Linked DNA regions of Homo sapiens: all the other regions are linked to region 5. Evidence: promoter capture Hi-C in 16 types of primary human blood cells and fetal thymus (Javierre and others, 2016). All regions are on one chromosome and are shown on one strand. Each heading gives the region's core, a stretch centred on a gene start or on the middle of the fragment in contact. The rest is flanking DNA. Distances are from core to core; before and after follow the strand shown. Region 1 holds the start of HBP1 (HMG-box transcription factor 1). Region 2 overlaps DLD (dihydrolipoamide dehydrogenase). Region 3 holds the start of CBLL1 (Cbl proto-oncogene like 1). Region 4 overlaps DUS4L-BCAP29 (DUS4L-BCAP29 readthrough). Region 5 holds the start of SAMTOR (S-adenosylmethionine sensor upstream of mTORC1).

The links. Contacts are between HindIII fragments. The CHiCAGO score rates a contact against its expected background, and 5 or more counts as called.
Region 1: a fragment that was not itself captured here is called in contact with the fragment with the promoter of SAMTOR in region 5 in 2 of 17 cell types (fetal thymus and naive CD8 T cells); the score reaches 5.6 in fetal thymus.
Region 2: a contact is called between a fragment that was not itself captured here and the fragment with the promoter of SAMTOR in region 5, in 3 of 17 cell types (fetal thymus, total CD4 T cells and activated CD4 T cells). The highest score is 7.2, in fetal thymus.
Region 3: the fragment with the promoter of CBLL1 here is called in contact with the fragment with the promoter of SAMTOR in region 5 in 3 of 17 cell types (total CD8 T cells, fetal thymus and naive CD8 T cells); the score reaches 11.0 in total CD8 T cells.
Region 4: a fragment that was not itself captured here is called in contact with the fragment with the promoter of SAMTOR in region 5 in 1 of 17 cell types (fetal thymus); the score reaches 5.2 in fetal thymus.

The regions. Positions count from the first base shown.
Region 1 is chr7:107,165,233-107,169,374 of GRCh38, forward strand. It overlaps HBP1 (HMG-box transcription factor 1), which reads left to right and starts at 3,771. Exons shown (of 11, transcript NM_012257.4): 1 at 3,771-3,953. RefSeq lists silencers at 3,299-3,872, 3,891-3,990 and an enhancer at 3,421-3,580. The HindIII fragment of the contact is 837 bases long and covers 2,463-3,299 here.
Region 2 is chr7:107,891,476-107,895,960 of GRCh38, forward strand. It overlaps DLD (dihydrolipoamide dehydrogenase), which reads left to right. Exons shown (of 14, transcript NM_000108.5): 2 at 1,725-1,803. Among named protein-coding and RNA genes, the nearest start is that of DLD, 2.5 kb to the left of the region's middle. RefSeq lists an enhancer at 1-128 and a silencer at 1-48. The HindIII fragment of the contact is 544 bases long and covers 2,804-3,347 here.
Region 3 is chr7:107,741,798-107,746,263 of GRCh38, forward strand. CBLL1 (Cbl proto-oncogene like 1) reads left to right here and starts at 2,345. Exons shown (of 6, transcript NM_024814.4): 1 at 2,345-2,379. The coding sequence starts at 2,367. It overlaps CBLL1-AS1 (CBLL1 antisense RNA 1), which reads right to left and starts at 2,784. Exons shown (of 2, transcript NR_144537.1): 1 at 2,576-2,784; 2 at 956-1,606. RefSeq lists enhancers at 934-1,453, 1,454-1,972, 2,070-2,289, 2,640-2,819 and a silencer at 1,830-2,029. The HindIII fragment of the contact is 5,122 bases long and covers 1,136-4,466 here.
Region 4 is chr7:107,567,253-107,571,297 of GRCh38, forward strand. DUS4L-BCAP29 (DUS4L-BCAP29 readthrough) reads left to right here. Exons shown (of 13, transcript NR_163941.2): 4 at 3,893-4,014. It overlaps DUS4L (dihydrouridine synthase 4 like), which reads left to right. Exons shown (of 8, transcript NM_181581.3): 4 at 3,893-4,014. Among named protein-coding and RNA genes, the nearest start is that of DUS4L-BCAP29, 5.3 kb to the left of the region's middle. The HindIII fragment of the contact is 4,339 bases long and covers 1-4,045 here.
Region 5 is chr7:112,937,669-112,942,261 of GRCh38, forward strand. SAMTOR (S-adenosylmethionine sensor upstream of mTORC1) reads right to left here and starts at 2,207. Exons shown (of 5, transcript NM_152556.3): 1 at 1,923-2,207. The coding sequence starts at 2,082. RefSeq lists a silencer at 2,036-2,135 and enhancers at 2,165-2,681, 2,336-2,675. The HindIII fragment of the contact is 2,363 bases long and covers 959-3,321 here.

The DNA of each region.
Region 1 (4,142 bases), core at 1,631-4,130, 5.8 Mb before region 5:
TAAAAAAATGAGTACTCCTCTCTATGTCCTGAGGATACCCAGGTTTATTTCTCCAGACTTGGACTTCCTAAATGCCAGATGAATATATTCAGCTGCCCAAGGACCTCTGGACTCAAATTTCTTCCTGCACAGCATGCTTATCACCCGAGGTTGAACCTATCCTTTCCCTTCCTCCCAGTCCCCAAATCTGCTATCCTCTCCAGCATTCCCTCAGTCAATAACATCAACATAACCACCCTTCCCCAACATACTGCAATTACCCAAGCTGGAGACACAATCATTTTGATTCTTCCCTTTTACGTTGATTTTTCTTCCTAATGTGGTTATAGTGTTAAGACATTAGCTTATCAGCCACTGAAGAAAGGTCTTGCTTTCTGGTCATCGGAGCAAAATCTAAACTTCAGTTGCATCAAGAACTACAGGAACAGGAGACAGATGACTCACTTCTACAATGGCCATCATTAGCTCCTGTGGATTTCATTACAACTTGACTGAATTACCTGAGTACTTTGAACTAATTAGAAAATTAACTCATTTGAAAGGATAGTAAGGTATATGGAAGGATATTTGTTGGAGTTTAAACATTCAAGATGCTGTCTGAAAACTTTGAGAAGTACTTAGACCATACATGTGTTCAATTTCTCCATTTAGTACTTGTTCATGTGATTTCATTTGTTTACCTTTTGACAATTCAAAGTGATTATTTTCAATATCAGGCAATGCATGTACTTGAACTTCTCTGTAGTTAAGCAAAGCAGTCATTGGTGTGTCAAATATGGTGGAATCAGGGAAACACATTATTTCACTCCTAAATAGGATTTACCGGTTTTTTGTTTTTCTTCTGTTCGTTTTTTACTATCTCTAACAAATTAGAACTTGATATTTAAGATAACAGAGGTAACTTTACAAACCGCTGGAAAGACATTTTGATTTGACAATTTCTTGACATTTTTTTGCATACATTTTATGTGTGTATATGTGTGTATAGATATGGTGACTGTACCAATCAAGAAGAGGTGTTATTTAAAGTAACTGATTTTTTAACTTCAATTTTATCATGGAAACATCTGAAAGATAGTTAAAAACTGTAGTTATATCTGTTTTAGTCTGAGAGTATAATTAGCACATGTAAAAATTTCCAAGGAGATCTTACTAGTTTTGTACTTTGATCTTTGTTCTGGCTTATAAGTTGGCTAGTTTTATTGGTCACTCAATTAATGATGATGTCTCTGGTAAATACACATAAGCTACTAATGTGGTCATTTAGCCCCCCACGGAAGTCAGAAGATTGGACTAAGTGTCCACTTAAAGGTGTAGCGAATTCTAATACTAGTATTTAATCAGTTGTGACTAAACTATCTAAATTTAACTCATATTAAAGACTTGGATAAAAATGAGAAAAAGTGTGCAAAAAATGTTTTCTATCTTTTTATTCTCAATAATTGGCACAGTGGTCAAAAAATGGAACTAAACGTTTCTGAATGAATGGAAAAGGCTTTATGGAGCTATTAAAGGATAAATTATTATTTGTAACATATTGTACAATATCTGGATCTAAAGTTGAATTTTTTTTCCCCATTTCCGGTGTCCCCCGATAAAAAAAATCACCACTAAGGCATTTGGTAAAAACTTTAAAATAGTTTAACTTTTAAAAACAAGGTTTAGCTGAAAGCAGATCTCACAGTTTGTGTACTGGAGAGGGGTAAAGCAGTATGTCAATCTCTTGCCAGCTCTTTTTTTTTTTTTTTTTTAAGAGAAAAGTTTTTTAGTTTTCTAGGAGGAGTTAGACATAAATATCTCAAAACAATTTTAAATAATTAGGTGAACTTCACAGATTTTTCTTTTTTGTCAAGAAATTACATGTTGGAGTAGAGTTTATATTTTCTATTCTAGTACACGATGACCCTCCATTGTAAAAAAAAAAAAAAAAAAAAAAAGCATACACAAAGTAGCAGAGACATTCATTTCTTTGAGTCACTAATAATTTCTGAAAGATGATAAATTCAAATCCTGTCCTTTTTCCTCAGGGAAAAAATTAAGCATTCTGTTGGCTCTCCTCTGAATTATTTTAATAAAAAATAGAATGCTTTATTACTATTTGTGAACATAGAAAGTAAGTATTTGATTACACGGGAGGACTACTTTATAATTTCACTTCACGGATTCAAATGGGGAATTCTCAAGAATTTTAAACTCGATTTCAACATGTGGGGGCTTATTTTGGATTTCTTGATTTGTTACGCGGCTTTCAGGTATATTTAAAAATCCAAGAAATGCAGGAGGTTTTAAAGAAATAACTAGCTGTGTGATTTCTGGCTCTGTCCAAAGGTTTGCTTTTACAGATTTCTTACTAATGTAGGTTTTCCTCATCTTAATTCTAAGCATATATTTAGTGATCTAAAGTTAGAAAATCTAAAGCACAATTTAAATGATTAAACACTAAAGGTTCAAAGGGGGGAAAAAGCTTAATCATGCCTTTGTAATGTGAATGGTAAAGACACCAATTATTGACTAGATGCAGCCGACTGTGAATGGACAGCCATGTTTAAAGAGAAGTTAACTATAAAGCAGGGAAGCGTCTCTGGTGAGTCAGAGAATTCGTAACTTGAGGAACTCCTAGTGGAAATGAAGTGGAAAGACAGTTTCTTTCATCAATGAGAAAACGTCTAGAAGGAAAAGAGGGTTAATAAAACTCACCAGAGAAACTTACTGATAATGATTCACAAATTAAATCAGTTTACGTCATACATTACACCCTTTGTATTACGTTAACCAACGAGCATACTAATCAGTATGGAAAATGCCGCTTTAACTTGCCTCAATTTCGTAATCGCCCGCCCCCGCCCCCGCTTTGTAAATTCTCTAGACTCCAGCTTCTCGCTTGCTCACAGTCCATCCCCCAGCCTCACTCTTCCTGGCACTTAGGTGGCGGCTCAACAAACTTAGGTGAACTGAACAGAGCTGACAAGGCAATCTCAAGTTGCTGTCCTGGGAGTGGTGAGGCAAGGCACAAGAGAAAGGACTTCTAGTTCTTCCCACTGCCAGTGCAGCCCCCAGCATCACTTTCGACCCCTTCGTGCCTGGGGCCGTGATTTGTGGGTGATCAAGTCCCTCGCTAGCCTGCAGTACTTCCGCTGGTGCAGTCATCTCCTTCCCCTCGCACTAAAACAATACCCTGGCCTCCTGCCAAACTCTTGAGCAGCGAGCAACTCTGGCTGTTTATGGCCCGGATTGGGTGCTGCAAGAGGCTTGGGCCGCTCTAAGTGTTAGCAGAGGCCCGGAGGAAAAGAAGAGGCCCAAGCTTTAAAACACTCCCTTCCTCCGCCCCCTCCCTTTTGTCCCAGACACCAAAACAAACGAGCTGATACACGTGTCCCTATGACTCTTGTTTACTATCAAGACTGCGCTGTGCGAGCGCCTCTGGGATACGTAGTCCAGCTCTTCCCCGGCCAGCAGTCTCCCACAGCCAAGGACCAAGGCTTGAGACTACGAACCCACAATCCATTTCGGGGACAAAGTTTGGCTTGGGTCCCCGGACTCTCGGCAATAGTCCAATCCGAAGCACTTACTCTTGTGATTGACATGCCATCTTCTCCAGTAAACACAACACAAAAGTCAATACATGCCCGCCCCCCGAGACGGACCACGGTACCACCCAATGGGAAAGGGGAAGAACCGAATGGCAGTTCTGCAGTCCAATAAGAGGGCGAAAGAGCTGGGCGGGGCTCAACCCCCAGGGGGTTGAGGGGAGGGGGAAGACGAAGCTTGAAAGACTTGGTAATGGCGACGGGTTTGGTAAGTAGGAAAGTTTCGGTTGAGGAGTAAGAGCTGCCGCGGGAGCAGTAACCCGCGCGGGGGAGGCCGACGTCGGTCGGAGAGGGGGTACGAGAGCTGCTGGTGGTGTTGTCGTGGCCGGAGCGGCCCGCGCCTGGGCTGCCGGCACTTCGCGGCAGGTTTGTTGTCTTTCAGTTAGGGAAGAGGTGGGGGTGGGGAAGGGAGGGGCAGGAGCGCGGGGGATTGGGCAGACTGGAGGGCTCGGGTCCTCGTTCCTTCTTCTCGGAGGGTTGCCCTTGGGGTGGGGGCAGTTAACCGTTCGATTGGTGCCCGCGGCGAGCCCACCGGAGCAGCGTCTCCCGCGAGCT
Region 2 (4,485 bases), core at 1,826-4,325, 5.0 Mb before region 5:
AGGCGAGGGACGGGGCTGGGCCCAGGCTGTGGCGAGTCCTTTCGGGTTGTGTGACGGCCGGCGGTCACACATGCCACACCCCCAAGCCTGGGCCGAGGGCCATCCCGGTCACACATAGGCCTCTACCTTGGAGGAAGTGTAAGCCACCCATGTCCCGTATAGTCTGGCTTTTTATACCATTTGCCTTTTTCTCATCCTAATTCTGATCCCTGAGTGGCCTAAGTTTATGCAGTGGGCAGGTAACCCTGGGGTCACTTCTTGAATGGTTTAGATCCAGTCAGCTCCAACAGATAGCCCTCGGAATTCCCCTAAGGTCTTGTCAGTGTTGGCAGCTTTCAACTGGTGTTCATTGCCATCTCTCACGACTTCCTGGAGGCTTAAATCTTTAATTGCAGCAGGTTATCAGAACAACTCTCCTTTTTAATCTGCTTACCAGATACAGCCAAATTGTGTGTATGTGGCACCGTGGCTGGGTACTATGTTAGTGGAGACCTTAAAAATAATATAGCGATCAAACCCTTTTGTTTCAGAGATGAGGAACCTGAGTTCTCAAAAGTTAATGTAACATTCTGCAAGTCATGCTTTTAGGGAGCGGCGGAGGTGGGACTGAAACTCAGGATTGTCAATCTGCTGCTTTTTGGGTTTGCTGTCCTGACCTCAAATGTTAAGAGTTGCCTTGGAATAGGAAACATCAGTGTAGGTTTTGTCACTGCCGCCCATTTTCCTGCTGTGAGCAGGGGTTATTTGCTTGCTTGCTTTCTGCCTCATTGCCCTTAGGAAATGGTAGCCGTCCACATATAGAGATTAGGGAGATTATGATGCAATTTGTCAAACTGTAGTAGCACCAGAACGTAAGTACATTACTTGGTGCATTTTCCTAAGTTACCTTGTCTAATTTGCTATTCCTAGTTGATGTCTCAGGAACATCTTCATAGATTGTTCTAAGTAAATACGGACTGTATATACACGCTAGCTTAGAGTTAGGAAACAAAAATTACAGGTAAAAAGATTATCATGTATAGATTATTCAAGTATTTAAGTTAGAACTTTCAGAGCTTTATTTATTTATTTATTTATTTATTTATTTTGAGACGGAGTCTCACTCTGACATCCAGGCTAGAGTGCAATGGCACTATCTCAGCTGACTGCAACTTCCGCCTCCCGGGTTCAAGTGATTCTCCTGCCTTGGCCTCCCGAGTAGCTGGGATTACAGGCACCCACCACTACACCCGGCTAATTTTCTTGTATTTTTAGTAGAGTCGGGGCTTCACTATGTTGGCCAGGCTGGTCTCGAACTCCTGACCTCAGGTGATCCGCCCACCTCAGCCTCCCAAAGTGTTGGCATTACAGGCGTGAGCCACCACGGCCGGCTCAGAGCTTTATGACATTAAAATGATCCCTGGCACTAATAATTAGCCATGTTTTCTGAAAATTGAATAAAAATACCATTGAATACGTTTTTAAAATTAAGTTAAATATGAGATGATTTGTTGACTATTGATAATAAAAAGATGGGTGTGGCAAGCTGAGGCTGAAAAATTTAAATGATTAGTTATTGTCAAAGAGGGGATATTGATCTGTAGCTTCTGTGTGGCAATGGAAGAAGATACACTAATAATCCTCGCTTGATACGTTTGCCCAAAATTGTTCTGTTATCATCAACCTTCAGTAGTTCTATGTTTTGAATTCATATCTTACATAATAGGGACATTTTCTTTTTCTAGAGAGGCCATTTCAATCGAATATCTCATGGCCTACAGGGACTTTCTGCAGTGCCTCTGAGAACTTACGCAGATCAGCCGAGTAAGTACTTAAGTAAAACATTTTTTTCATCACATTAGCTGACAGTTCCTTTCTATTTCAATGTAAAAGCAAGTGAATATTGGAATAACTTATGTTAAGTGTCTTATAGTTCATTTGTTCATGTATTTATTCGTTTGAATGTATATTGAGCTAGTGTGTTCCAGGCGGTGAACAAGGTAAAAAAACCCTGCTCTTATGAAACTTGTAATTTGGTGATAAAAGACAAACAATATATAAGTAATGGATAAATATTTTGGGAAGTAACTGAAAATTAAAGCAGGTAATAGGGAGGAAGAGAGATAATTTTAGATACAGTGTCAGGAAAGGCCTTTCTGAGGAGATGATGTCTGGGCAGGGTCCTGAGTGAAGTGGGGGAGTGAGGTTACTTCAGGCAGAGGGAAACAACACTGAGAAAGGCCTGAGGTGGGACTTAGCTTGTGAAGTTTAAGGAGTAATAAGAAGGCTGGTATGACTGGAGCAGAAACCCATGCAATGTAAAGTCGGAGAGGTAGGCAGGAGACAGATCATGGAGTGCCTTGTAAGGCAGGTCTAGTAGTTTGGATTATACTCCAAGTATGATGGGAAACAAAGGTTTTGAGCAGGGCAGCAATTTCATATGTTTACATTTAAAAAGTTAATTTTGTCCGTTGAGTAAGGTTGTATTGGTTATTTTAACACTGTTTAGAATGATGAGATGACTTTCTTGACATCCTGAATGAAAGTCTTCATGGGTTTATCAAAAGCATGTTTTAAAGATTAGCAGGATCTAAAAGGAAGCTATGGGTCATGGAATTTTCTCCTGTGTACTTTTTTTATATTTTTGAAGTTCCCATAAAGGATATGCATTTTATTTTTTTAAGTATTTAAAACAGAAAGTTAATAGGATTATATTGAAGTATTTTGACCTGTCAGTACCAAGGATATTGATTATTTGCAATGTACTGTTTTGACATTTACTGAATTCACCCATATGGATTATAAGTAACATTGGATGTCTTAAAGCTTCAGTTATAGAAATCATTATCTGGGCAAACTGTGACTATCAGTCTCCCTGCATTCTGTGAAGTAATTTAATCCTGTATCCTCAACTGTTATCCAACCATTATCATTTTGGATATTTTATTTCTAGAGGAAGGGTAGGGGGAGGATTCTAGTAACCCATGACTAACAGTGAGTGAGTGATTTATTCTAGCTTTGAACAGGTCAAGAAATCCTTTTAAAAAAATGCTAATATGATGATGAAGGGAAAAGTTGGACCTCTTATACACTTTGTCTCTTGTTAAATAGGAATCTCATTCTTCTCAACTCATATAACAGGAGAAATGTTAGATTTTCATTTCTAAAGGATATTTTTCATGGCTAACTCTATACCTTTGGCATCACTCAGCAGAGATTATTCAGTGCCTTCTATTTGCCAGGCAGACCCTGAGCCAGAACTTAGATTTTAGTGGAATGAGGCTGAGTGTTCCATAATCAGTTTGGTGATCCCTTGACATTGAGTAAATCATAAATCACTTAGTACCCATGTGTGTAAAGTGTGTAAAAGCTTTGAGTGGATGCAGTAACAAGCATTTTACACACATACTTGTATTTTATCTGAGGTACATGCTTACTGTCTTTTCCTCAGGAATGCAAACTTCATCAGGACAGGGACTGTGTGTGACTGTTTTGTTTAGTATCTAAAGTGATACAGTAGGTAATCAGTACATATTTATTGAATGAATGAACACTGGGGCCTGGTCTGTTTTAATTACTGCTCTGTGGCAAAGCATCCAGTATGGTGTCTTGTACAAAGTAAGTAACCAGCTACAACAGCAATAATATTAACTGATGCATTGAGGGCTTCACTCTGTCTCAGGCACAGATTTAATCCTCATGGCCTTTCTACTACCTGTGTGCTGCTGTTCTCCCCATTTTATAGATGGAAGAGTTAGGTTTTTTAACTAGGAAATGACAGAGCTGGGAGAATCCTTTTGACTTCAGAGCCTACACTGTTAATGTTTTATTGAGTTTTCTTCCTTACATGAGTATTGATTGACTCTCCTGAGGAGTTCAAATCTTATTATGATATAGTCTTGGTTACAACATCTGAGAGATGTCTGAATAGCCTTATGAACCAGGTTCATCAGAATTTGCAAAGTTGTGTGTGTTACTGTTGATGTGACGTTTTATTTCATGACAGCACTTAATCAAACTTGTAACACTTAAACTTACAGCACTTATATCACTCACATTCACTACATTCATTCATTCTTTTATTATTTCGACAAATACTAATATCTACTATGTGTTAGTCATTGGGCTAACTACTGGAGTACCGCAGTGAGCAAGACGGACAAGACCCAGCTTTTATAGAGCTTACAATTCAGTTGAGGGAGACAAACATCCAACATATAATTGTGACAGGGGTCCATAGACTTAAGCATAGGGAGTAATGACATCTATATATGGATTGGGAATGGTCACATAATTCTTTCCTAAGGAATTATGTTGATAGCTAAAAAGGTTGAGAGTAACTCTCGTTACAGGTTGGACCTTTTACTGTAATTCTTTTTTTTATTTAGACTGTAAGAAATAGGGCTATGTCATTTATATATACACACACACAGACACAGCATGTGCAGACACACCCCTCCAAGAGCCTAAAGTAGTGTTTGTAATGTGAAATGCCTGCTGTTAGTG
Region 3 (4,466 bases), core at 1,095-3,594, 5.2 Mb before region 5:
AACATAGGTAAAGAAATTAATTTATCACACTGCTACTGCATTGGTAATTCAAGGCAACCACAATTAAGGGGGTAAATACAGACCACAGATGCTAAAGCAATGCCTGAAAGTAAGAGATGTCAAATCAAATCAAACAAATGTTTAACATTTTATCAGATCTAAAGTAAGTACATCTTCTCTCAGTAAATTTTCTTGATGCACCATAAAATGCCAACAAAACTTCTAACTTACAGGTTAAATTATATAAAATACAATTTGAAAGCTCTTTTTAATTCTAATTATTTAAATATTAGCATCAGCAGACATTAATAATACTATTCTGAACCTGGATTTCCATGAATCTGAAGGTTAACCGTTAGCTGATAGGCTAAGTATGATAGAACAAAAAAATCAAAGCCAGTGGTGGTGATGAGCATCTGTAGTCCCAACTACTCCGGAGGCTGAGGCATAAGGACCCCTTGAGCCCGGGAGTCCAAGGATGCAGTGAGCTATGATTCTGCCATTGTGTTCCAGTTTGGGCTGCCCCATCTCTAAAAAAAATTTTTTTAATATGAAAAAGAAGTACTTTCTAAGTGAAAACTTAAAAAAAAAAAAAAAACCCAAATTGGTGAAAAATGCCTGACTATATCAACACTGTATTTAGAAAAATAGGGAGGTATGGGAAAAAGGTTAGGCAAGCCCCAATGCCCAAAACAATAATCCCAGAAACTGAAAGCATCTTGAAAACCACCTAGCAATACAGAACTTTACATTTAAAAAAAGCAGGGGTAATTTTGATTCACAAATGTCCTTAGTTGTGAATGTACCTAAAAACTTGTTTATAAAGCTGCATATATAGAGCAGAAAAATCTTTTACAAGATCTCAGGAAAATAATCACCAAATAACATGGTGCACTTAAATCGCACTGATCATCACAGCATGATTCACAAATAATACCGTACAACTACAAAGATATAACACATCGCTACACATACTTTATTTGCAATTCAGTACCATGAAAACATTTCTCTAAGAGGTCAATGTAATAATCTTTTATTGATATAGGAACTCTGGCACTGAAAGCTTGAATAACCCAAGGTAATGATGTCGTCACCAAGGGAGGACAAGAATAGAACCCAAATCCCTTGACTCCCAAGCTTGTGTTTTCCATTAATTGTGCTCCTTTCTATTCATCCAAGAGCATCAAGTGTAAAAGGCTGGAGAAAGGAGTGGACACAAATGAGCCAAGTCCGCAAGGTGGAGACTGCACTGAAGGTCCTAGGAATCGCCCCTTGGCACTTTCCTTTTGTGTTGGCTGAGGAAGATGAAAGCAGCAACAACCACAAACTCCTGGGACCAAGAACTGGAACTAGGTACTGCTTGTTGTGGTAACTCTCTTCCTCATTTTAGGCCTTTCCTTTTTAACCTCTCCTTCCGGCCAAGCCTTCGCGCTCTCTTCCCCTCCCTCGGTTTCTATCCGCTCCCGTTAGCTCCACTCCGCACATTCCTGCAAGGTGTCCCCGTTAAGAGGAGGCAGCTGCGCCGCACTGGCTCTCCACCCTCCATCCGGCCCTGGCGCCCAGTCGTCAGGTGTTCGAGAGGTTCGTAGCGTCACAAGCGCTCTCCCTAGAAAGTGAGTGGCAGTCAAGCATTATAAACGTGTTTCAACTGTAAAGAGACTTAAGAGATGGGAACCGGGGCATATACCAAGTTAGCTCTGCGTGGGTCTAGGTAGCTCGTCACGACAAAGCAAAATTTAGACAAGCGTTGAGACTTTCCTTCTAGCTCCGAGTTTCACAGCTCCGCCATCCCCTGAGCAACCTCCCACTGGAGGGCGCCTTCCGGAGCGCGCGTGTTTACACTTTTGCTACACCAGGCGGAGGAAACAAGCGCTCGCTGACCCCGGGGGATTCCAAACCGTTACTCCGCCCGCCGGGGTGGGGCCAGCGCAACGGCCGAGCCTGCGCAGCCAGCCGGCTCCGGGGGCCCCGCGCACTACAAGTCCCAGAAGGCAGCTCTCCGCGGGGCGGGCAGTCGCCTTATCTGCTTCTGGCTCATTTTTACCACTGCTCTCCCCTTCCCCGGTCCCCCTGGTGTCCTTTCCACAGTTAAAGGCTACTTTCTCTTGAAGCACATGAGGAGAAGCCTTAGCAACCTCAATACCGAAGTTCTTCGCGCGCTCGCTCTTTCTGCCTCCGCCCGAACTATGCCTGAGTCCCTCACAGGAGTTGGATAGTAGAGGCGAGAGAAGGAAGTCTTTGCAGGCCAAAATTGGGACAACCTGCTTGGACTTCCGCCTCCCGGCCTCCGGAAGGCAGTGCGCACGCGCTCGCTGCGACTCCGGCGCGGTTGACTTCCGCTCCCACTGTGCTCTGCGAGCCGAATCATGGATCACACTGGTAAGGAGGCGGAGGCAGTGGGGGTCCCGGTTCCAAGCCCCCTTGGCCGGCCTGGGGCTGGTCGCACAGCAGGCAAAAGGGATTATGCTCGCCCCACAACACTAGGGTGTGGCAGTGAGAAGAAATCTCACAGATGCCTTCCTGTGCCCGGCAGGGGCCTGCGGTTTCCTGGCCTACCGTCTGGTGTGGTACCTACCTCCTCCGTGCCGGCAACAACCGCTCCTACTCTGGTTCTGCTGAGCTCCGAGCCCGGACCAGTGGGCGATGTAGGCCTTCGGGAAGGGAGAGCCCCGGCTCTGTTTTATTTAGCCCAGCTGCTCTGGCCTACGTTATGGAGACTGGCGGGTAGATTGCGGTCTCCGAGTCGCGGAATCCTCTTTACGCTGGGAGTGGACGGGCGAGAATGGGTTGGAGACTTCCTGCTGTCTCAGTCAGCTTTGGGCGGGTGCTGCAGTGGTCACCCCCTGTCGTCTCTCCGATCCTTTATGGACTAGAGGGGTGAAAGAAGGGAGTCTGATAGAGTTTTTGGAATCAAACTCGGAGCAGTTTTTCTACCTAAACCAAAAGCATGCCCCGCGCTTCGGCTGAGGTCCTTACTCATCATTTGAGGGTATTTACAAAGAGGAGTTTAAAATCAAGGCATTCTCATACTTTTCTCCAAGTAAGAGTGGCTCCACCCTTTGTTATGTATTTTCTGGCTTTTGCTTCTTTGTGGTTCTTGGATATTGAATGAGTGCTCTTGGAGTTATGTGCCCCATACATTTATAGCGACCGTATCACAAATAGAGAAAAAAAGGCTTTTTCTTGAGTATTGAGTTGTCCTCACTCATCAGATATCTACTTGGTTATATAATTAGGTGTGTATGTTTATTTATGTAGGTGTGTATGTTTATTTATGCAAGATACATGCAGATATCTATAGGTCGGGAGATGGAAGATGGAATGGTAAACGAGACGGACCAGGTCCGTGATAGAACTTCTGTTTTATGGAGGAACACAGACAATACGTTCTTTTTTTTTAAATTTATTATTTTTTTAATGTTTGCGGATTATTTTGAAGAAAATAAACGAGTGCTGTGGAGAGATTCATAGGACGAAATTTCAGAGAGGGTTGTTAGGAATGGTCTTTGTGGAAGCTAAGATCTGATGGATGAGAAGAACCCAGCCCTGGGAAAAAAGCAAGAGGAAGAGCATTTCCAGCAAGTGCGAAGGCACTGAGGTAGGAAGATACAGTGAAGTCAGCTGCAGCCTCCTAATAGCCAGAGGGTAGGAGTCCTGAAGTGAGATTGGAAAGGAGGGCAGCAGGCACATCATTCAGGTCATTGAAAGCCGTGGTAAACGTTTGAATTTTAATTTAAGTGAATATGAAGCCATTGAACAGAAGTGGAGGAGGAACACAGTCTCTTAAAAAATACAATAGGCTGTTCTATGAAGAATGGTGTAAGAGAGGGAGGTAAGAATGATGGAAAATAGCTGATTGCAGTAGACGGGAAGGGAAGGTTGGTTTGGTGAAAATGAAGGAGAATGGGCAGCTTCAGTAAATACTCTGGTGGTGTTTGAAGGAATGTGAGAGAAAGGAGAAATGCCTAGGCTTTTGGTTTGAGCAACTAGGTAGGGTCCATTATTGAGCTGAGGAAAACTTGGGGCAGAAAACAATCTTTTTTTGTAGAGGTGAGACGGGAATTTGGGAACAAGTGTTTGGTCTTGGACTGCTAGTGTGAGATAACTACTGAGACACAGGAGAGATGCCAAGTGGAGATGAGAGGAAAGATCTGCACTGAAAATACGTATTTGGAAGTTAGTACCTTTATTTATAGCTGGTATTTTAAAGCATGAGGACAGATGAGACCACTTAAGAAGGGTGTGTTCAGAGGAGAAGCCGGCCTAGAACGAGGCTGTAAAGAATTCCAGTGTTTGGGAATTTATAGAGTTGAAACTGGGATTTTGATGTTAGAATAGCAAACATTCAACTTTAGGAAAGTAATTCTTATTTGAGCCCACTACTGGAATTATGAGTCAAGTTCCTGCCATAGTTTAGAGGCTATTATGTTAGGAAATCATAATAGGGGTGAGTGTAAAGAGTGTTT
Region 4 (4,045 bases), core at 698-3,197, 5.4 Mb before region 5:
GTACTGTAAGACCACCCACCATATGGGAACTTCAAACTCTTAGCTTTGGAATCATGACTTAGAATTGAGTCATGATGCTACTACTTGCCTAGTATATATGTGATCCTGAGTAAACAATTAACTTCTCTGAGCTGCACTTTTTATATCTATAAAAATGGTGGTGGTTGTAACTCCTACCTATAAGTATATAATGGATATTAAATAGATATAAGTATTGATGTATAGATTTTTATGTGAACTTAAGTCTTGGGACAAATAGGAGTGCAATTATGGGTCCTAAGGTAGTTGTGTGTTCAGTTTTCGAAGAAATATTTCTTCGTATCTTTTGCTCATCTTCTAATTGGATTGTTTGCTCTTTTACTATTGAGTTTTTTTAGAAGTTTGTTATAAAATATACGTAACATAAAATTTACCTCTCGATCATTTTTAAGTATACAGTTCAGCAGTGTTAATTACATTCACATTGTTGTGCATCTGATCTCTAAAACTCTTTTCATCTTAGAAGATGGAAATTCTATCACATTAAACTGTGACTCCCCATTCCACTGTTCCTCACAGCAGCCCCTGGCAACCATTATTCTACTTTCTCCCTCTATGAACTTCACTACTCTAGGTACCTCATATAAGTCTTATACGTATTTGTTCAGAACTGGATTTATTTTGCTAATATTTTATGCAGCATAACATCCTCAAGGTTCATTCATGTTGTAGCATATATCAGACTTGTTCCTTTTTAAGGCTGAATAATATTCCATTTTATGTATATTTTGTTCATTCATCTGTTGATATCCATTCATATATTGATAGAACACAAGATAACTTCCACCTTTTGGCTACTGCAAATAATACTGTCATGAACTATGGGTGTACAAATACCCATATACAAATACCCATGGTTCGTAACAGGTCTCTGAGACCCTGCTTTCAATTCTTTTTGACTATGTACCCAGATGTAGAATTGCTGGATCATATGGTGATTCTATGTTTAATTTTTTGAGCAACTACTGTACTGCTTTCCATAGCAGCTGCACCATGTTACCTTACCACCAGCAGTGAACAAGAGTTTTAATTTCTCCACATCCTCATCAACACTTGTTATGTTCTGGGAGTTTTTATTTTATTATTATAATCATCCTAATGGGTGTGAAGTGGTATCTCATTGCAGTTTTAATTTGCATTTCCCTAATGATTAATGATGCTGAACATCTTTTTGTGTGTTTATTGGCCATTTGTATGTTGTCTTTGTAGAAGTATCTATTCAAGTGCTTTTGTCCATTTGTTTGTTTTCTTGTTTTCTATTATACTCTAGATATATATTCTGCTTTGTCAGATGTGTGATTTGCACGTATTTTCTCCCTGTATATGGCTTGTCTTTCATGCTCCTAACAGGATCTTTTGCAGAACAAAAGTTTCATTTTAATGAAGTCTAACATCAATTTTTCCTTTTGTAAATTGTGCTTTCGATGTCAAGTATAAGAAACCTTTATGTAGCTCCAGATCCTGAATATTTTCTCCTAAGTTTTTTTCCCTAAAAGTTTTATAGTTTTATGTTTTGCATTTAAGTCCATGATCAATTTTGCATTAACTTTTATGTAAGTGTGAGGCTTAGGTTAGGTTGCCTATGGATGTCCAATTACTCCAGCATCATTTTTGAAAGGCTATCAGCCAGGCACAGTGGCTCACGCCATCAAATCCTAATCCCAGCACTTTGGGAGGCCGAGGTGGGCAGATCATTTGAGGTCAGGAGTTCGAGACCAGCCTGGCCAACATGGTGAAACCCCATCTCTACTAAAAATACAAAAATTAGTCAGCGTGGTGGCGCATGCCAATAGTCCCAGCTGCTGGGAGGCTGAGGCAGGAAAATCGCTTGAACCTGGGAGGTGAAGGTTGCAGTGAGCCAAGATCGCACCACTGCACTCCAGCCTGGGCAACAAGAGTAAAACTCCGTCTCAAAAATAATAATAAAAAAAGAAAGGCTATCTCTCCGCTAATTCTTTGCTTCTTTGTGAGAAATCAGCATTTTCTGTTTTGTTCCATTGATCTTGTATCTTTTTCCCCACCAATACCACACAGTTTTACTATATAGCTCTATAATATGTCTTGAAATCAGGTAGACTGGTTCTTCCCAATTTATTTACTTTTTCAAAATTGTTTTAGCTATTCTAGTTCCCTTGCTTTACAAATAAATTTTAGAATGACCTTGTCTATCTCTGCAAAAAACCCTGCTGGAATTTTCATAAGAACTGTGTGAAACCTATACCTCAACTTGGGAAGAACTGACTTTCTTACTAGGTTGAGTCTCCCAATCCATGAACACAGTATATCTTTCCATTGATTGAGATTTTCTTTGATTTCTATCATCAGTATTGTGTAGTTTTCAGCATACAAGTTCTGCACATGTTTTGTAAGACACCCAGGTTTTGAGCATGTTTGTAAATAGAATTTTTAATTTTTGGTGTTCACATGTTTATTGCTAGCACATAGAAATAGATTTTTGTATGTTGATCTTATATCCTGAAAACTTGCTAAACTCACTTGTTGGTTCTAGTTTTTTTGTAAATTCCTTCAGAGTCTATATGAACAACCATGTCATCTACAAATAAGGACAGTTGGATTTCTTCCTTTTGATCATATGCCTTTTGTTTCTTTATCATGCCTTATTGCACTGACTAGAAGTTTCAGCGCCGTGTTGAATAAGGGTGATAAGAGCAGACTTCCTTACCTTGTTCCTAAGGCAAAAGTGTTCTGTAGGAATTTTGTGGATATACTTTATCAAACTGAGGCAGGTTCCCTCTACTTCTGGTTTTCCAAGAGTTAGCTTTTTTTTTTTTTAACTATGTATGAGTGTATTTTGTCAAATGCCTTTTCTGCATCTATATGATCATGTGATTTTTATTATTTAGCCTGTTAATATGATGGATTACATTAATTGATTTTGACTATTGCACCTTCTGTTTTAACCGGCTTTTTCTGACAACACTCCAGCAGGGAATGATGTAGGGGAGTGGTGCCACCTCATTGCTATCTGATAGAAATCCAAGTTCTCCACTTGGCCTCCTTCGACATCTGGTGGGTGAGGAGCTCCTCATTACTGCGGGGCAGTGATGAGAGTTCCAGTTCCCCATAGTGAGGGTAGCCTCATATGTGCTGGGCAATAATGAAAGTCCTGGCTCTCCACTATGCCTCCTCTGACACCACACCAAGCAGGGAGGGAGAAGAGTGCTTCATTACTGCTGGCAGGCATGGAAGTCCAGGCTCCCCTTGTGGCCTCCACTGATACCACTGGGCTGGGAGTGACCTCAGTGGCCACCAGAGATGAAAGTTTCAGATCCTTACCTGGCCTTGGTATCAATAGAATGTTGGAGCACCTTGTTACAGCCTTTGGAGGGTAGAAGTCTAGGATTCCCACTTGGCCTTTGCTAATGGAGATAAAGCCATAGCTTTTTCTACAGTATTTGGCTGGAGTAGAACTGTCTAAAAGTTTTCTGTCTTACTAGGTCAGACAGAACATTTTCCTGGTCCTTTGGTTAGAGAAGGCTTTTGTTGGGGCTGGTTTTGTCTGCATCCATTGTTGTTTCCAGGTGGCCAGCTTCTTCAAGTCTAGGATATTTGAGACAAAAATAAAACCCAGAGAACTCACCACCCTGTCATTCCTCAGGTCCTGAGGTCACTAGCCTATCTGGACATCTTTTCTTCACCTTTCAAAATTTTCTTGTGTTTGTTTTATATATAATATCCAAGGTTTTTAGTAATACTTAACAGGAATAATAGGGAAAAGTAAATCTCCTCCATCTCCCCATAGGTAGAACTTTCTCTGATAAATATTTAACAATGCACTAAAATATGTTTGTGGTGTTTCTAAATGCATAATTAAGGTTTTATATGCTCACAGGTTGGCTTTTAGGACACTAGTAAGAAAATATAGTTGTGATCTGTGTTACACACCAATGATTGTTGCCGCTGATTTTGTCAAATCTATAAAAGCCAGAGACAGCGAATTTACCACAAATCAAGGTATGTGAAACCGAGTGTACTGACTTTGTAA
Region 5 (4,593 bases), core at 957-3,456:
AGAGAAGTCTAGATCACCGGTGAAATTCAGGGTATTAAAGCGCCTAAAGAATAGTCTCATTCAAATGTTTAAACTGCCAGGACTTTAACTCCCCAGAAGCATACTAGATCATTCACTTATGAACTCCATGTATCTATTCTAGATCTGGTAACTTCCGATTCTCATAAACAAGAGTTCCTGTGGTTAATACTCAGGCTTAAAACATGGTTAAACATGTGGGAACTAAGCACATATAAACAGCACTTGAAGAGATGCCACATTAGTGTGTTAATTTGAGTGGAACCTATTCATTTATGAATAAATGAATAATGAAATTATTAAAAGGTAAAAATAGAAATGGAATTCTATGCTAGTCATTTTTCTCTTTAGAAAGATGCACTTAAATTTGTACAAAATAGCAGGATAAATTGCAGGAAAATGTGTCCATTTATTTCCTAATCTCTCCAAATAACATAAAATCTACAGTGAATTCCATTATGTAAGAGCATTCTTTGAATATCAAGAATGATGCAGTTGTTGCTATGGTAACTACTCATTTTATTGACTAAATTGTGGGTTTGGGTAGCATTCTTTCAAAAAACATATTTTACCATCCTAAGTAGGTCTGATAAGACTCTTTCTATTGCTATCTGTTAAACAATAACTACAAGCCCCATTTGGGGATGATTAAACAGCCTCTATTAAAAGCTAAGCTTGATTTGCTAAGGAAAGAAACCTTTAAAGTTTGAAAAATGAAACATATCAACTACATTCAAAAGAACAAAGGATACTTAGTTTTAACTTTCTAGAGTAGTTGAAACGTGTGTATAAATCAACAGTAACATGATCTTACCTGTCTGTATTCCTTCACTGCCATAATTTTCCTTCTAATCCTAAATTATTAACTAAGTATAGGACTAACACCAGAAGGCTGCTGACTTTTCAGTTTGCAATTAAGCTAAAATGAGAACCAGTGGAAAGCTTTCCTCATTTCGATACTCAGGAGAAGTCTCTCTCCCAAGCCTATGAAAACAGAATTTTCACTGTCAAAATCTTATAAAACAGCTGTGTACAAAAGCCTATATTTAAAGATATCAAGGATAACTGTAGACTCCAACTATAAACACTCTTCAGGCACAGGCAAAAGCCACTAAGGCTTCTTCCCCTATGAGCTTCCACAGAGGGGGTTCTCACCGGAACCCCATCCATGGAAGCCGAGGGTGGGCTTTATCGGCAGGTGTCTTTAGGAGGCTTCCAATACAAACGGTATTTTCAGAACCTGCCCAGATCTCTTCCTCATCGCCTAAATAAACAGTTAAGACCAAGTATTTAAGAAATGGGAGTGGGGGCCACGAGTGTAGCCCGCCCCCTTTTAACAATGTGAAGTCCAGTCAGCTAAAAGGCCTGCTGGCTTCCCAGCCCTGGAAGCCAATGCGAGGAAGGCTCGGCATGGTTGTAGGAATGAAGTACTAGGAAGGGGGTCTGATAAGGAAGCAAATGGTACAGCCGGTAGGTCAAGCGTAAAGGAGGGACAACTCAGGTTTCTTTTCGTCTTTTACAAATGGATTTTACCTGTCTTGTTTTACCTCGGCGTCTCTTGCAAAAAGCGACCCCCACCTCCTCTGTGAGCGTGTATGTGTTTGTGTGTGCCGAGACAACAACCTCAGCACCCCGGCTGGGGACAGGGGCTTGGAGGGGGTGGGGACTCAATTCCTTTACAGGCCTAGAACTCTCCCGAAGGGCCCTCAAAGAAAAGGGGGCGGGGAGGAGCGCGTCTGATGCCGACTAGGGGGCTCAGACCAGGCCCGGGAGAGCAGCAGCGGCTGGGGGGACGTGCAGATCCTTTACATTTTAATGGTGGCCTCTTTGGAGGAGGGAAGAGGTGACAAGCGGTTGGGGGTGATGAGGCCTCCCCTTCCTCCCTCACTCAGCGCGCTGTTTACCTTCTCGGTACTTCTTGCGGAGCCGCCGGTGGACGCTCTTCACCACACCGGAGAGCTTCTCCTGCTCCAGTTTCCGCTCCTGCTCCCGGGGCGGCGGAGTGTTCGGGGACCCGGCCCTCTGCGCACGAGCAGTATTTCGGCCGCCGGCCCCTGGCTCCATATCGCAGCCGCCGCCGCCGCCGCCGCCCCTCAGGCCCCCGCAGACGCTCCCCAGATGGAGGAGGTGGGGTAGGAGGAGGGAGCTGCGGAGGCAGCAGCCAGAGGAGGCAGAGGAACCGGAGCGACAGCCTTGGAGGTGGACCCTCACCCAAAAGTGCAAACTGATTGGTGGATTTTGAGGGCTGGGCGGAAACGGAAAAGGCTAAGGGCCAATGGGCAGAAAGCGCCGGCGGCGAACCCGGTTGTTTGGGAAGGCGAGCAGCTGGAGGAGGCGGAGCTTGCGGGGATAGGGAGGCTGAGGCAGTGGGAGCTCCAGGCCTGGGTGCTCATCTCTTCCCCACCCTCCCCGGATTCTGTGCGCAGGCGCTGTGGCTCGGCCTCGGGAGACGAGCTGTGAGCAACGCGCTTGCGCGTCTCAGTTTGCTTAGTTTGGGCTTTTTTACAGCTCGGCTTTCTGATGTCTTCCATCATTTTCATCCCCTACACTTTATAATCTGTTGCGATGCGGCCAGGGTGCTCTGCTTGAACCTCCGCTGCACCTTGTCACATGTAGGTTCCCTTTAGTTACTTGCGCTTTGAGATGACGTTACACTTCAGGGACCTCAAGCACACAAGCATTCTAAGGCTCAAGGAGAGGTCTGGCTACCAAATGCTAATTTAATTCTCAGGTCGACAATGGTTTATGCCTGCAGTACTACTGCTGGGCAAAGGACATAGAAAATGCGAAAAGGAGAGGGCCAAGAAAAGCAACAGGAGATGCAGGAGGACAATAAGGAACGATGGAAAACTCACAGCAGATGCCCTCAAGAACTTTTGTAGTGACCACGGTGTTAATAAGCAGCCTTCCCTGATCTTATTCGCATCAGCACTCTGAGCTTTTATGGTCAGCTCAGGTGACCTCCTGTCCTTTAATTTGGAGAGTTAGTCTATGCGGAGTGTATCTAAGTGGGTTTGGTAACCTGTTCACCCTCCTCCACTTCTTTTCCATCTCTTGGGGAACGCGATTGTTGACTTCTGTCCCAGAAAGGTGGAACACTGCTCTCTGGAGAGAGGTAGACTGCATTGGCTCCTGAAGTGGTACTGAGGCTGCTGGAGTGTCAGAGATTGAATAGACTGAGAGCCCCTAATGAGTTGTGTTGGATTGTGTACCACTTCCCCATTGCAGGTGTTGGTTACGTGACAGTCTATGGAAATGATTGCAATGGTAACATTTTGATAATGATTTTCTAACTACGAATAAAGCTTGCATTATGTAACTGTTTTATATGCTACCTTCTTTATATTGAATACGCTGAAGAGCAAAGAATTATACACACTGTCTAGGACACAGGAGAAGCGGGAGGTGAAGGGAGATTGATGGAATTTAAAGGCGGAAGATGTGTCCCTACAGCACAGTGAAGAGACAGATCAAACACAAAGACAAGGACATATAAACTTCAAAAGAACTCCTTATAATTATGAAGAGAAGTTAAGCGGAAGTGCCTAATAAATTGAAAATATGGTGGTCTTATTTGGGGGAATTTCATTTGGGAAGAAAGGGGAGCTTGAATTACATGTCTCTTTTGGCTCTTTCCATATTTTAATACATATGGAAGGCAAATAATGGTGCAGATATTCGAAAGATACAATGATAGTAAAAAGAGCATTAAATTTCACTTGTGCTGAACTGTAGTTTTATTTTTTAAAAAAGAACTTTTCAGCATAATACTAGCAAATGAACTTTTAAGGCCTCTTAACTGAAGATGTTCACTGAAGGAAATTTGGAAAATACAGAAAAGAGTAAAGAAAATAAGACATCTGGACTGAGAGATAACAACTTAACATTTTTTCTTTGTTTGTATATACTAATTTCAAATAGGATATTTCTTGATGCCTATGTGGCAATCTATTGTATGAATAGCCTACTATTTCATTAACCAATTCCCAGTTATTGTAGATTTATGTTTTTTCCAGCTTTTTTGTATTACAGATAATGTCATGACAAACACATTTGCACACAAGTATTTGTCCATTTCTTTAATTATACATTCCATCAGGCTAAATTCCTAAAAGTTCAATTTCTGAAGCAAAGGGTCAAACATGTTAGGGTTTTGATGTATATTATGAAATTGCCTTTTCTGAAAGATAGTAGCAGTTTATGCCATGTCCACTAGTACCTATGGGTGTTTATTTCATTGCACCCTTACCAAAGGTAGGTATTACAATTTACAAAGTCATTAATGAGATTTTAAAAACATGTCTATTTTTTAAATAAATATGTGGAATTTCCTGCTGTTTCGTAACTAGCTATTCTTATTGGTATAATATTTAACTTAAAATACCAACGTAAGAATAAATAAAAGGAACTTATTTAAGACTATCTAGTTGTTGTTGTTCAAGCAGATTGAAGAGTCCTACCTTTTAAAATTACTTTTTGACTTCACACTTTCTTGAAAAGCAACCGAAGAAATAACAATTGGACAGCCAGATTTTATTTTAAAGAAAATGAAATCTTTTTATTTTCTTTAAATTT